2 separate regions of the Homo sapiens genome follow, and region 2 is linked to region 1. Evidence: promoter capture Hi-C in human tissues and cell types (Jung and others, 2019). All regions are on one chromosome and are shown on one strand. Each heading gives the region's core, a stretch centred on a gene start or on the middle of the fragment in contact. The rest is flanking DNA. Distances are from core to core; before and after follow the strand shown. Region 1 holds the start of GRIA4 (glutamate ionotropic receptor AMPA type subunit 4). Region 2 holds the start of LOC124902813 (a long non-coding RNA gene).

What was found. Contacts are between HindIII fragments. The study calls those that stand out against the background at their distance.
Region 2: a contact is called between a fragment that was not itself captured here and the fragment with the promoter of GRIA4 in region 1, in 1 of the 25 tissues and cell types used here (mesendoderm cells).

Annotation. Positions count from the first base shown.
Region 1 is chr11:105,605,100-105,611,569 of GRCh38, reverse strand. GRIA4 (glutamate ionotropic receptor AMPA type subunit 4) reads right to left here and starts at 1,497. Exons shown (of 17, transcript NM_000829.4): 1 at 1,142-1,497; 2 at 485-662. The coding sequence starts at 572. RefSeq lists a silencer at 321-521. The HindIII fragment of the contact is 8,669 bases long and covers 1-6,000 here.
Region 2 is chr11:104,959,302-104,965,834 of GRCh38, reverse strand. The region is part of intron 1 of CASP4 (caspase 4); the gene reads left to right. It overlaps LOC124902813 (a long non-coding RNA gene), which reads right to left and starts at 5,392. Exons shown (of 2, transcript XR_007062986.1): 1 at 1-5,392. The HindIII fragment of the contact is 5,410 bases long and covers 1-4,197 here.

The sequences.
Region 1 (6,470 bases), core at 248-2,747:
AGCAAGAAACGGCAGGGCGTGCGGGTGGAAATGTCTTTTTCCTCAAACAGTGTCTTTCTGTAATAGCAAGAAAGCTGCGGCGTCCAGAATGGGAAGAAGTGGATTTTTTTTTTCTTTTTTAAACAAACTCGACATCACTTTATGCTTTAGAGAAAGGGATGGAAATAAATATCATATAAAATACAACCAAATTCCCCGAAGACTTTCCCCCAACTTATTTCAATCCTACTTAAGCGACTATAGGTAAAGGTGGAAATAGGGCTATGGGCTGAGAACGCATGGGTGGGCTGCCCTGGGTGTATTCCAACGGAACCTGCACTAAAGAGGAAGTCTTTTTGCAAAGGAGAGAAAGGAAGAGGAGGGAAACAGAGGGGAAGGGAACTGCTGAAGGTTTCCCTGAATTGCTTATCAGCAACTCATTTAACTCACTTTCGGATATCTGCTACAACCAGCCACATGCACACCCCATCGGAGCACACCTTACCTATTTGCACGCTGCTCGGAAAGGCTCCCATGGCGAGTCCCCAAAATCCAGAAAATAACAAGACAATCTGTCTGGAAATAATCCTCATCTTCTTTTCTCCTCTCCCTGGCGCGCGCTCTCTCTCTTTCTCTCGCACTCTTCCTAAAGGCTGTTCAGAGAAGCATTGAAGACGATGGCGCTAAAATTAAAATCAACCAAAAAAAAAAAAAAAAAAAGAAAAGAAAGAAAAGAAAGAAAAAAAAGGAAAGAGGTTTCGGTGGTTTAAGATTATGACTAGTTCTCCTTAGCAATCCATCGCGAGCCGCCAGATTTTTCCCGCAGTCTCCATAGCCCTGGGAGAGGTTTTCTGTCCGGCTGCAAATGTTGCACATGCAAAAGATGGTGGTGGAGCGTCTAGTGGCTGCTCGCAGGGATGAGACATGCGCTCTATCTTTGCCTCACTCGCACTCGCGCTCGCCCCTTGCTTTCTCACATACACACAAACACTGGCGCCGCGGCCGCCACACGCGCTCTCCAGCTCGCATCAGCCGACATCCCCCAGCAAGCCTGCACCAGCCCGGAGCATCGCTGCCCTCCTGGCGTCCCCTCCTCGAGCGCGCACTCCCTCCGCACGCCCCTCGCCCACCGCTCGGCTGGCTTCACCCCCTGGGTGCTCACCGGAGCGCCCCAGTCTCCCGGACGCTCCGGAGCCAGTCTGGTGTCAGGTTTTCCCTTCTGACCACTCGCTGACTCCCTCCTCTTTTCTTCCTCGGTTCGCAGAGGGACCGACTCTGGGGATGGGCACCCCCAGCGCCCCTCTCTTGGTTTTCCTGGCACCTCTGCTTCTCGGCTGCGCTAGGCAGAAAATCCGCCCACGGGCCAGGTCTGCAAGCCCCAATCGGGGGCTCCGGGGGGTTAGTACCTCCCCATGCCCCCAGGCCCCTGCCGCATCCTTGCAGGTTCGTGAGGAGGACGGGCTGCCTCCCTCTCCTACAGTCCTGGCTTCCCTCTCAGCCTAGCCCTCTTCTGCCACTGGGCTGCGCGCGGGGGACTCCGGTCCTCGCTGCAGCAAAGATTTCTCACCAGCAAACAGCCCGGGAATCTGGAGAGCCTGACAAGGGAATGGATGAGGTGAAAGGGTTCAGAGAGGGATGGGAGGAGAAAAGACAGGCAAAGGGCAGCCCCTGGCGGGTTTAAGAGGCCAGGACCAGGATGAAAGAATTGGAGGAGGTAAGGATGGGGAAGAGAGCCAGAGAAGTTGAAACATCCTGGGAAGGGGAGGAGGGGGTAAAAGGTTATTTTAAATAACTGACGAAGTTTAGGGTACTGAACGGGATGGGGAAAAGACTGAGAAATGAAAATTGAAAGAGGCCTCTAACATTCTCTTGGAAAGGCATGAAGCAGGGATAGGAATAAGAACTGCGTGAAGTGTAAAGTAGGAAAAGTGATTAAAGATTCGATTGCTTTCTATACAGTCACCCATTCCGGAGGACTCTTTCCTTCTGTGCTGTGGCCCATTGCAGGAGCAGGAGGGACACAGCGCAAAGGCTGATGAAGGACCAGAGGGGCAGTGCTTGGGGCAGTGGGCACAGGTGTCTGACAGGAAGATAGTGTTTCGTGCACATCTCCTCTTGTCTGGGACTCTGGAATGCTCACTCTGCTCCACGCCACCTCCAGGTAGACTTAAGCACTTCAGTGATGATGTCAATAGTTGTTTTGACTGGGTAGAAGTGAAAATGAATTATCCTAGAAAGTTTTGGGGTTACAGTCTCACTTGCTCTCCAGAGTCACCTTTAAGATTGTCCTTTCATCTGCCTGTCCTGGACTGAGCTTGAACCACACTCAGAAGCAGTCACTGTGGTAGCCGTGAGTGACCGGTTTCTGATTTCCTCTGTATGGTTTGAGATTTCCTGATCTAGTTAGTAAATACAATCTCCTGTTCCAATAAGCTGTGTGAGAGAATCATTAGAAGGAGAGGTTCTCCTTAAACGTTAGGGAACCTAGGGTGATGTCTGCCATTAAATTTTTAAAAAGAATATAGCAAATGCCTAGGTTTGCCTGATATAATATTTGAGACTACAATGCTTAAAGTGGAATTCTTGCAAGGGACTTACAGAAAGCCTGGTAACGGCTTTTTGAAATATACATTACCTTAACTCTTTCAAAATACTTTATTTGGTGTCACTGATTACCTGTATTTGTAGTTTGTAGATGACATTTTAAAATCCCTGCTAAAACTTGAGTGCTTTTCTATTTCCTAAGTTTTGAATTTTATTTTTAAAATTGCATCTTTAAAATAAGTGTCTGCTTTCCCGTTACATTTCACCACAGATTGTTATGAAAAAAAAAACCTAATTGTAACTGTATTTTACAAATCATACATTTGTCATTTTAGTTTGTGAAGTTTTAGTCTTGCAAGTCAAGTGAAATTTGAAGCATTTTTCCTTTTTTTATTTTTCTGTGTTAAAAAACAAGGCTGTGAATAATAGCATTCTGTTTTCTCTTGAAAAAGGATAATAGAGTATGACACATAAAATTCAAGTTAAATTAAAATTTCAAAATCCACCAAACTGTTAAACTCATCACTTGCTTGGGTAACTAGTGAAGCTCTTCCTGATCCAGAGGCAATTATTAACTTTAATTCTTCTCAAAATTGAAAGATTTCAGTTTTCATATGATGTAATAGCATCATTGATATAGATGCAGGACAAGTTTTTTTTCCCCACTTAACTGTCATGATAACACCTGGACTAATATAACCACAGATGACACAACTATATTTTTCCAAAATAGTAATCCAGTTGTTTTTAATTTCTATTTTCCCAAGTAGTTAAAACCTCTATTTTACTTTCTAAACCTAAACTCTCTTTATCTGTATTATATACACATATATTTATAAATGTATGTATCAAATATATTTTCTCTGTATGATACATAGAAATATCATATATACATATATTATATACGTATATACATGTATATAGATGTACATATATGTCAAATAGTTATATATTAAGCACCTATGATGTGTATTTATTCTCCAAGTGTTTGAGATATAAAGTTGAACAAAACAAAATCCCTGATATTCTTAGAAGACTCTTAATGTTTATGAATGCTCACTAATGTGCAAGGTATTGTGCTGAAGCCATACATATATTACCTGATCTACAGAAAATTTTAGGTATCCTTGCATTTGTTAGGTAACCCAACTAAAGATTTAGATTCTTTCTCAAGATTATATTCTTGGTAAGTGATGAAACCATAACTAAGGATGGGACTCAAGTTGTCTGATTTCAGAGACTGGGCTGTCTTTATTAAAACCTGCTGTGTTAATGAGTTTAAGGAGTGACGAGGGGTCTGGGAGCTGAAAAGTAAACTACAAGAATCCTAGCATTCAGAAAGGTAGTGTGTTCTACCTGAAAGACCTCAGGCTTTCAGACTAATAATTAGTAACTGGTTTCAGATTACAGGCCCTCAATTTCTTAGCTGTATTGACTTGGATATATTACCTAACATTTCTTTTCTGACAGGATATAAGTAAACTTTCAACACAGTTCTGGCACATAACTGGCAACTCTTGTCAATAATGAGTTGCCCCCCAAAATGTGATAAAGGCTCTTATAGAGTGAGGTGCAGAGTGCCATGTGAGCAAAATAGAGTGTCTAACTCTGACTTTGAGGGAATTCAGGGAGAACTCACAGAGAGAAAAATAAAATTGAACTGAGTTGCTATGTGTTTGTAGGGATTATCAAGTGGAGAAAAATTATGTCTTTCTAGACACTGCTAAAAGCTTGGTAAAACTAGACTTCAGGTTATATGAGGGGAAGTAGTGGAAGTGCGGCTGGAAAGCAAAGCAAGAGATGGCTCGGCACCATCTCACTCAGAAGCATTGTCTTCGTCTCATAGAGACAGAGAAACAATGAACGGTTATAAGCAAGGGGGCAAAATGACCAGATTTGTACTTTAGATCAGAAATCTGATGCTAGGAAACCAACCCATATTTTTAATAATAAACCTTTCATTTGGAATAATTTTATTTACATAAGTGTTTCTAATTAACTACGGAGAGTTCCCCTGTACCCTTCATCCAATTTCAGTTTTCCTTAATGTTATCATCTTACATTACTCTGGTACCTTTGTCAAAAATAAGAAACTGACACAGGTATGTCACTGTTAATTAAACACCAGACTTTATTTACAGTTATATCAGTTTTTCCATTAGAGTATTTTTCTGTGCCAGGATCTAGCTCCGGACACCTCATTATATTTAGTTGTCATAGCTCCTTGTTCTGTTTTGTGACAGTTTCATCTTCGTTTTTCATATGACATCAACAGCTTGATAAGTACTGGATAGGTGTTTGCAGAATGTCTCTCAATTGGGATTTGCCTGATACTTTTCTCAGGATCAGACTGGGGTTATGGATTTTCAGAAAAGAGTACCATACAGGTGAAATGCTCTTCTCAACACATCATACAATGGAATCCATGATATCCCCTGACGTCACTGGTGACATTAACCTTCATCAGTTGGTTAAAGTGTTTTTGCACATTTTATCCACTCTAAATTAACTGTTTGTTTGTTTGTTTTTATTCCATACTGTATTCCTTGGAAGTGAGTAACTAACTATATCCTACTCTCCACGAGGGGAGAGTATCTACATAAATTACTTGAAATTTTTGTATTGAAGCATCGTCTCTTCTCTCCCATTTTGAAAAAACGTAGTCATTAATTTAAATCAGTGTGGACACATGTATATTTATGTGTTTATATTATTTTTTAACATTTAAGCACAGGGATACATGTGCAGGTTTGTTACATAGGTAAACTTGAGTCATGGGGGTTTGTTGTACAGATCATTTTATCACCCAGATATTAAGCCTACTACCCATTAGTTATTTTTCCTGATCCTCTCCCTTCTCACACCCTCCACCCTCCAAAAGGCCCCAGTGTGTGTTGTTCCTCTCTGTGTGTCTATGTGTTCTCATCACTTGGTTTACTGTTCCTGTGTCAGTTTGCTAAGGATCATGGTCTCCAACTCCATCCATGTTCCTGCTACAGACATGTTCTTGTTCTTTTTTATGGCTGCATAGTATTCCATGGTGTATATGTATCACATTTTCTTTATCCAGTCTATCATTGATGATAATTTAGGTTTATTTTATACTTTGGGTTATATAGTCTGATACTATGCTATTTGTTATTTATTGTGCTGTTCAAGTTGGTCCAGCTTTGGACATTAGGAGCTATTGATATATGTCCATCCTTTTGTTTTCTGAACATTTCCAGCCTTATTGTCACTATAGGAAGCTGTCTGTACATTACCTTTTATATTCCTTGCCCTAGCCTTAGTATGAGCCTTTTCAATAAGGAGTCCTGATTCTTTTCATTGCAGATTGGTATTTAAAAACCAAGATCTAGCAATGGGGTTGCTAACTGTTACTGAGTTGTCATTGCTTCCAGACTCTCACATAGGACAGTGCTTGGTTATACATGTATAACCCGTGTTGGTGTACATACCTATAATTGTTTCTCTATCCATCTATCTATGTATTAAGTTAAAAATGAGTTGTTACCGATGTTCGCAACTAAAATTCAGTACTACAGCATTCATTCTAATCTCCCTTCTTGCTTATCCGTACCTTACTTCTCCAACATTAAGAAACCTAGTTCCCACAGCCAAGTTAAATACATTTATCTATTATATTAAACCTAAACTTAAGTTCTCCAAAAACAATTGAATTTTTGGTACTATATTTTTGTTTTCAGCTACTGGTGATTACTGAAAACCCATGTCTATTATTGTTAGTTATCTGTATTCCTAGGAAACATCAAATTTCACAAACATTAATATAAATATATGGCACTTTTTGTGATATTCTGTCCTAAAAGAAGTGAGTACATTATTCAAATGACTACCAACAATTTAATAAATTTATTTGTGTATTTACTAGTTTAATGATTTCTTTGCAAAACCTAGTTTTTTTCAGTGCCTATATATTTTTCTCC
Region 2 (6,533 bases), core at 243-2,742, 650 kb after region 1:
GATTTTATAAAGTGATATTATCCCTGGGAGCACAATGGGGACATTCCAATTCTAGGAGCCAGAGGCTGCATGTCCCTTACATTGTAATTTTTAGTCTTGTAGCTAATTTGTTAGTCCTGCAAAGGGAGACTGGACCCCAGGCAAGAAGAGGGTCTTTTCGAGAAAAGGCTGTTACCGGTTTTGTTTCAGTCAAACCATGAACTGAATTCCTTCCCAAAGTCAGTTCGGCCTATGCCCAGGAATGAATAAGAACAGCTTAAGGGATAGAAGCAAGATAGAGTTGGTTAGGTCTTATTTCTTTCACTGTCGTAATTACCTCAGTTATAATATTGCAAAGGCAGTTTCAATCCCTCTGTTTGGGTTTTCTAATAGCTTAATCTTAAGGTGTAGGCTATGAAGATGGGAAAAGGCTGTCGATCACTCTGGCTTCTTCCTGCTGACAGGAGACATAGTGGAAATTAGAGTGAACCCCAAGGTGAGAAGAATGTAACCACTTTGCAACTGTCTGAGCATACTCATGCAGGACTGGCTGGGCTTCCAATGCTTGCAATGCAAAAACATTAGTACTCTCCTCTGTAGTTTTGCTATAATATTTAAGCCAACAGCCTCCTGTAAGGTAAATAACAAATCCTAGGATGAGGAGTACAATTCTCAATTTTAAAAGCAAAGATTGGAAAGCATTAATTTGGGGACTTCTAATCCACAAAGAATTTAGGATTTAGTCCAAACTGTAGGAAAAAACTCAAACAAAACTAACAATGGGTATATTATATGTTTTCTTTTGAAGCATAATTTTTCTCTCCAGACCCTATTTTTATTAAAAGTAAATTATAATAGAACTAATCTGTTTACCAAAATAAGCTTTAGTCTTACTGTACTTGGCCTGATTATTTGCATGAAGTGCAACAAGAATAATTATTTTTTATTTAGGCTGTTTTTTGTTTAAATTGGCTTTGATGGAACTCTGTTCCATGAGGAATCTCAGATAAGACTTTTTAAGAGCCAATCCCAGCCATGCATTTGTACCCTTAAATACCTATGAGTTGGGTAAATTCCTCTCCTCTCAAGGTCCCAAGATAACTTGGAGCTCATGAACCTGTTAGAAAGTGATATTCTTTACTTACTACAGATCAAGAACCTTGTACAAGGACTCTGTGTAGACAAGGTATGAAGCCAGATTCCCCAAGGGGCTTTTATTGGCTCTGTAAGTCAACTTCGATTCTTTAAGGGAAGAGTGCCATTCCAGTCAAAGCCTTGGTAAAATAACCAATTTCTCCAATTGTGTCATGTTACAAAAGAAAACAGATTTTTATTGTGCTTATGGAATTAACCATGCTGCCATAAATTGAGAATACTTACAAAGAGTTTCCAAATTCTGGAGAAATCAGGTAGAGAGAAACAAATATGCTTCAAAATTTTTTCACAGGAGTGTATTTTACCTACTTGTTAAAAGTTGCAAATATCTCTAAAGAAATAAGTTATCTTGACTGTGAAAACTGAAGGATTGGTGACATTTAAGACATCAGCTCTTCATGAGAGTCCTGGAAGTTTTGTTTTTTTCCTCTATTCCAATAGCACAATTTTTAAAGTTATCTGAGACCTGCACTCAGAGTCCTATACCTGATTATAAACTGCCTTTTGAAAACGACCAAAGCAAGACAAAATGTCTGTGGATGACAAAAGTCTATAGACACTATTAAAGCTATAATTGACTAGGAATTTTGCTTACTTCTGTGGCATCCAACAATTTTGTATAACAATTATAATTACTAATAATGTACAGTAAATTTTATCAGAATTATAGAAGTTTATATAAATACACAGACAGACAGAAAATTCAGCACTTGTAAGATTTTTTATTTGCCAGTTGTTAACTGGACTACTGGCTTCAGAGTGGAGCCCTTGGAGGAACAGGGCCAGGAAAGCATGCATTTTTTTTCCAAGCTAAATAAGCAGGCACAGCTGAAGGCAAAGACAGATCTCCAAAATGAAGGATGCCATTTTATACTGGATCCCAGATCCCCAAAAGGAAGGAAATACTACTGGAGAAGAGAGTGCAGTGCTTCTAACCTGCATTTTATTGCAAGGCAACCTAAAGCCAATCAACCCATTTTGAAATCAGCCCATCCCCCATGGAAGTCTCATCTCTCAGTCAGGCATGGGGATGTTTCCGTATCTTCCAGGTGGCCCAGAGCATGCTTCTCTGACCCAAGTGTGCGAAGAGCCAAGTTTCCCTCTGAAAATACTATTAGCCATCCCTTAAAGTATATTTCCTACCTAGTTATTACATACCAAAGCTATCTCATAATGCAAAGTAATTTCTGATATCCCCAAAATTCAAACTGTCAGATAACACAATGCAAAACAGAACAGAGCCTTTGATTTTGAGAGTGATCCATCTACTTTTAATTCCTTGGTTGTCATGAAGAAAACAGAGGGTTTTTTGTTTGTTTCTTGTTGTTTGTTTTTCCCAAAATGGGGTCTGTGGTGCTTCCTCTGTTTTTCTCAAGGAGTCTCAGGCTACCAAAAGTTATCTTAGTGCCTCTTATGTGTGCATTAAGAGTGGCAAGACAAAAAATGGAGAAAAATAATTCAGTTTACTAAGAAGAAAAAACCCTCTTTTACAGAAAAACGAGATCCAAGAAGAGAAAAACATAAAGGTCTTTTAAATGTATCCATAACTTGTTTATTCACTTTTAATTAAGCTGACTTTTAACCTTAGTGCTCTTAACAAAATCCTTTTAAATTTCGTATTACCCAACTTTAGCCATGCGGCCAACATTTCTGGCTTTTGAACTTTATCAAAAGTAACTTCCCAGGTGCTTCAAAGGTGTGGTAAGCAGTTTCTTTTTACAAGATTTAGAATTTCCCCAAGGTAGTCCAGAGAAAGGAAAATTCAAGAGAGGAAATCAGAAGCTATCCATGGGGTTGTGGGGGAACCTCATTAAATGGCAAAGTTATGCAAATAGCAAACCAGAAGGAAATTGTTCCAGAAGCCAAGAATAGAGCCTGAGCCTCTATGTCAAAAGGCAAAGTCTTAGCTACTGAATTACAGCATTGAGCAGTTTCTATTGCTATTCCAAGAAGGAGACTAGAGAAGCCACTTTTAACCTTGCCAAGGCTTTTAACTGCTCAAGAAAAATTTTTAGGGCTGGATGGTATAAACCAAAAGGAAGTATCCACATATGGTCACAAGATTAAGCTCTTAAGGAGGCCAAACAAGACAGAGAAATTTCATACAGTATTGGTTTCAGGGACCCATTATAATTGGCCAGCCTGCTGAGCTGGCTTGAAAAGCAGGCTTATAGGGGTCCTAAACCCATGTTCTATCTTGTGATACCCCTCTTTCCATTACAGAACACTGAAAGACAAATTCTTAGCAAAAATACACCAGATTTGCTATAGGCTAAGACTAGTCTTGTAAATTCTTTTTTCTATTAATCAAAACTTTACAGAGAAACATATAGTGATGTTTACTGTTTACACAGATGGAGAAAGAGAGAGAGACCAGAAACCTAGCTGGTAAGAATTTCTTACACTTTTTGCTGGCATACCAGATTTCTGGGTGCCTTTTCTCTGTAACTTCCAGAAGAACGGAACGGCTTCTGATCAGCCTGCTCACCTCACCATAGTTGTGGGGTTCAAGCCACTTTACAAGAAAAAAGTCACCATTTTCTGTTTTATGGAAACATAGGCAAGATTCTTAAAATGCAAGATGCTGCCCAACCAGCTGCATGGGGAACCATTTAACATTTTCTATCCCAGCAGAATTCACATAACAAAACAGACACTAGTCACCTCGTTCAGCACCCAATATCAACCTGGCAAAGCTCAGACTTTTTTCTGTTCGTCCCTGTTGTCTTTGATCCACTCCAGGTGGGGAGGGACGACCTCAGAACAGTAATTCACAATGGGGTCTCTGGGTAAGGCAAAGAGCAGATAGTCACCATGAGACAGGCCTATTGAACTTTCTCCAGGGCTCATCGAATGTAACCAAATAAGAAGAGTCCTCTGAGTTAGGCCTGCTGGACTTCCTTCAGCAATTCCTTCTGAGATTCCCTCCACATATACAAACACACACGAAGATGAGACAGACAGAAGGCCTTCCAAATCAGATGATCCCTAAACAGGAACTCCAAGAGTATCCCTTCCAAACTATCCTCCTATTCTCTGTCTGAGAAATCTCAAAATTGTCCTGATTGAGGACAAGTCTCGTGAACCAAGACTCTTCCTACTAGTTAGAGCCAACCAAGACCCCAGTGGAGCCGAACAGATACCCCGTGGTGGAGCTACAAACAGACACCCTGCAATGGGGCTACAGACACCCTGCAATGGGGCTACAGACACCCCATCATAGAGCTACAGACAAGTCGAGAGAAGGAAGGAGGCATTAGCAGTGCCTAGTAGATTCACCAATCCTAACACCCTGCAATGGGGCTACAGACAGACACCCCACTATGGGGCCACAGAACCAGTCAGGAGAAGGAAGGAGGCATTGGCAGCACCTAGGATACTCACCAATCCAGACACCCTTCAATGCAGCTACAGACGGAAACCCTGTGATAGGGCCACAGTTAGAGGACATCTCTCCAGGATTATTTCTCCGTTGCAATTAAATGCATGCACATTGGGTTGGCAGTGCCTGCCAGTGGAGAGAGTACCAGAGCCAGCCCCCAGTCCAAGAGAACTAGGCGGCTACTTGGGCTACCTTCTGGATCCATCGCTGGAGCGGGGGCACCAAACCACAAGCAGGTAGCCACAAAGGCTTTCCCAGTCTGATTTCGTTCATTGTTGTAATTTCCTCAGTTATAATTTTGCAAAGGTGGTTTCATATTCCTTAAGAGTTGAGCCACACATAAGTTTTATTCATTTGTTCCTACATGGACTTGACTACTGATTCAGTAAATAATTAGTAAATATTCAGTAAATAACTAGTAAAAAGAATGCCAAAAATAGTGCAGATGTAGTTCATGGCCCCTGTCCTCACAGAGCATAAATTCTAACAGTGGATAGAGATAAGTAGGCTGGGAATCACAATTAAATGGAAAAATAAAAAAAAAGGCTGGATGTGGTGGCTCAGGCCTGTAATCCAATAGCAGCAATTTGGGAGACCAAGATGGGTGGATCACCTGAGGTCAGGAGTTCGAGATCAGCCTGGCCAACATGGTGAATCCCCATCTCTACTAAAAATACAAAAATTAGCCAGGCGTGGTTGTGTGCACCTGTAGTCCTAGCTACTCAGAAGGCTGAGGCAGGAGAATCGCTTGAATCCGGGAGGCAGAGATTGCAGTGAGCCAAGATAGCACCACTGCACTTCAGCCTGGGTGACAGAGTGAGACTCTGTCTCACAAAAATATATAAATACATAAATAAATAAATGGAAAAAAAATGCTACTCTAAGGAGATACAAGGTGCCCTAGGAGCATATATCTCTGATGCTGTCTCCTCTGGAAGAATCAGAGAGGATTCCCTTAAGAAAATACCATCTAATCTGATACTTGAAGGATAGACAGATAGACAGATAGACAGAGAACAGTTCAAAAACCAGAAGAAATTAGAAGCGGGGGTGCTGAAACTATACAGATCCCTAAGTAGAGACTTGATTCCCTGAGAAAGGTGCCATCTAATCTGAGACTTGAAGGTTAGACAGACAGCAGTAGGAAAACAAGAATGAATGAGAAGGTAGGGGCTGGAAATACAGAGACCCCTAAATAGAATCTTTCCAGAAATTAAATGAAGGCAGAACGTTTTGAATGTAATGAGCAAGGTGGGAACAGTATCAGAAAATGAGTGAATGAGAAGGCCTAGATTAGAATAGGCTGAAAGTTTTCATGGTCAAATCTAGATATTGGAACACTCTTCGTTGCAAAGAGTAGAATAGAGGGACGGAGAGTAGATTGATAAAGTTCTTATGAATTTATTTCTTAAGAAAGAAAGGATGTTGGCCCGAATAGAAGTAATGAACAATTAGAATTGAGAGAAGTGGTCAGATTCTGAAAATGTTTAGCAAATAAAATCGATGCAATGTGAATTAAGAAGGGAAATAAGACATAGAGAAGGCCAAAGAGGTTGAATATCACCAGGTATTGCTGCTCTTTTGTACTTGGAGTATAGGTATTATTTACTAGTATATGGAAAAGAGAATGAAGGATGGAAATGAAAAAATGAACAGTTCATCTTTGTAAGTTGAGTTAAATGAGGTTGTGAGATGTAGTTGAGATATCTCATTGTCTATTGAATGTATAGGTTTCAATACCGACATCCACATCTGGGCTGAATCCATAAATTTGAGAATGATTTATTTATTCTTTTAAGCATATAATGGATGCCATCAGAATGTGTAGATTATACCTCAGGCCATACTTTTAATTTACTTATTTATTTATTTGACAAATAAACATTGTACATATTTTCTATGTACAACCTTCTGCTTTTATGAGTTTAACCTGTTTAGAGTCTATGTATAAGTGAGATAATGTGATATTTTGTGTTTTGGTGCCTGGCCTGGCTTATTTTACTTAATATAATGTTCT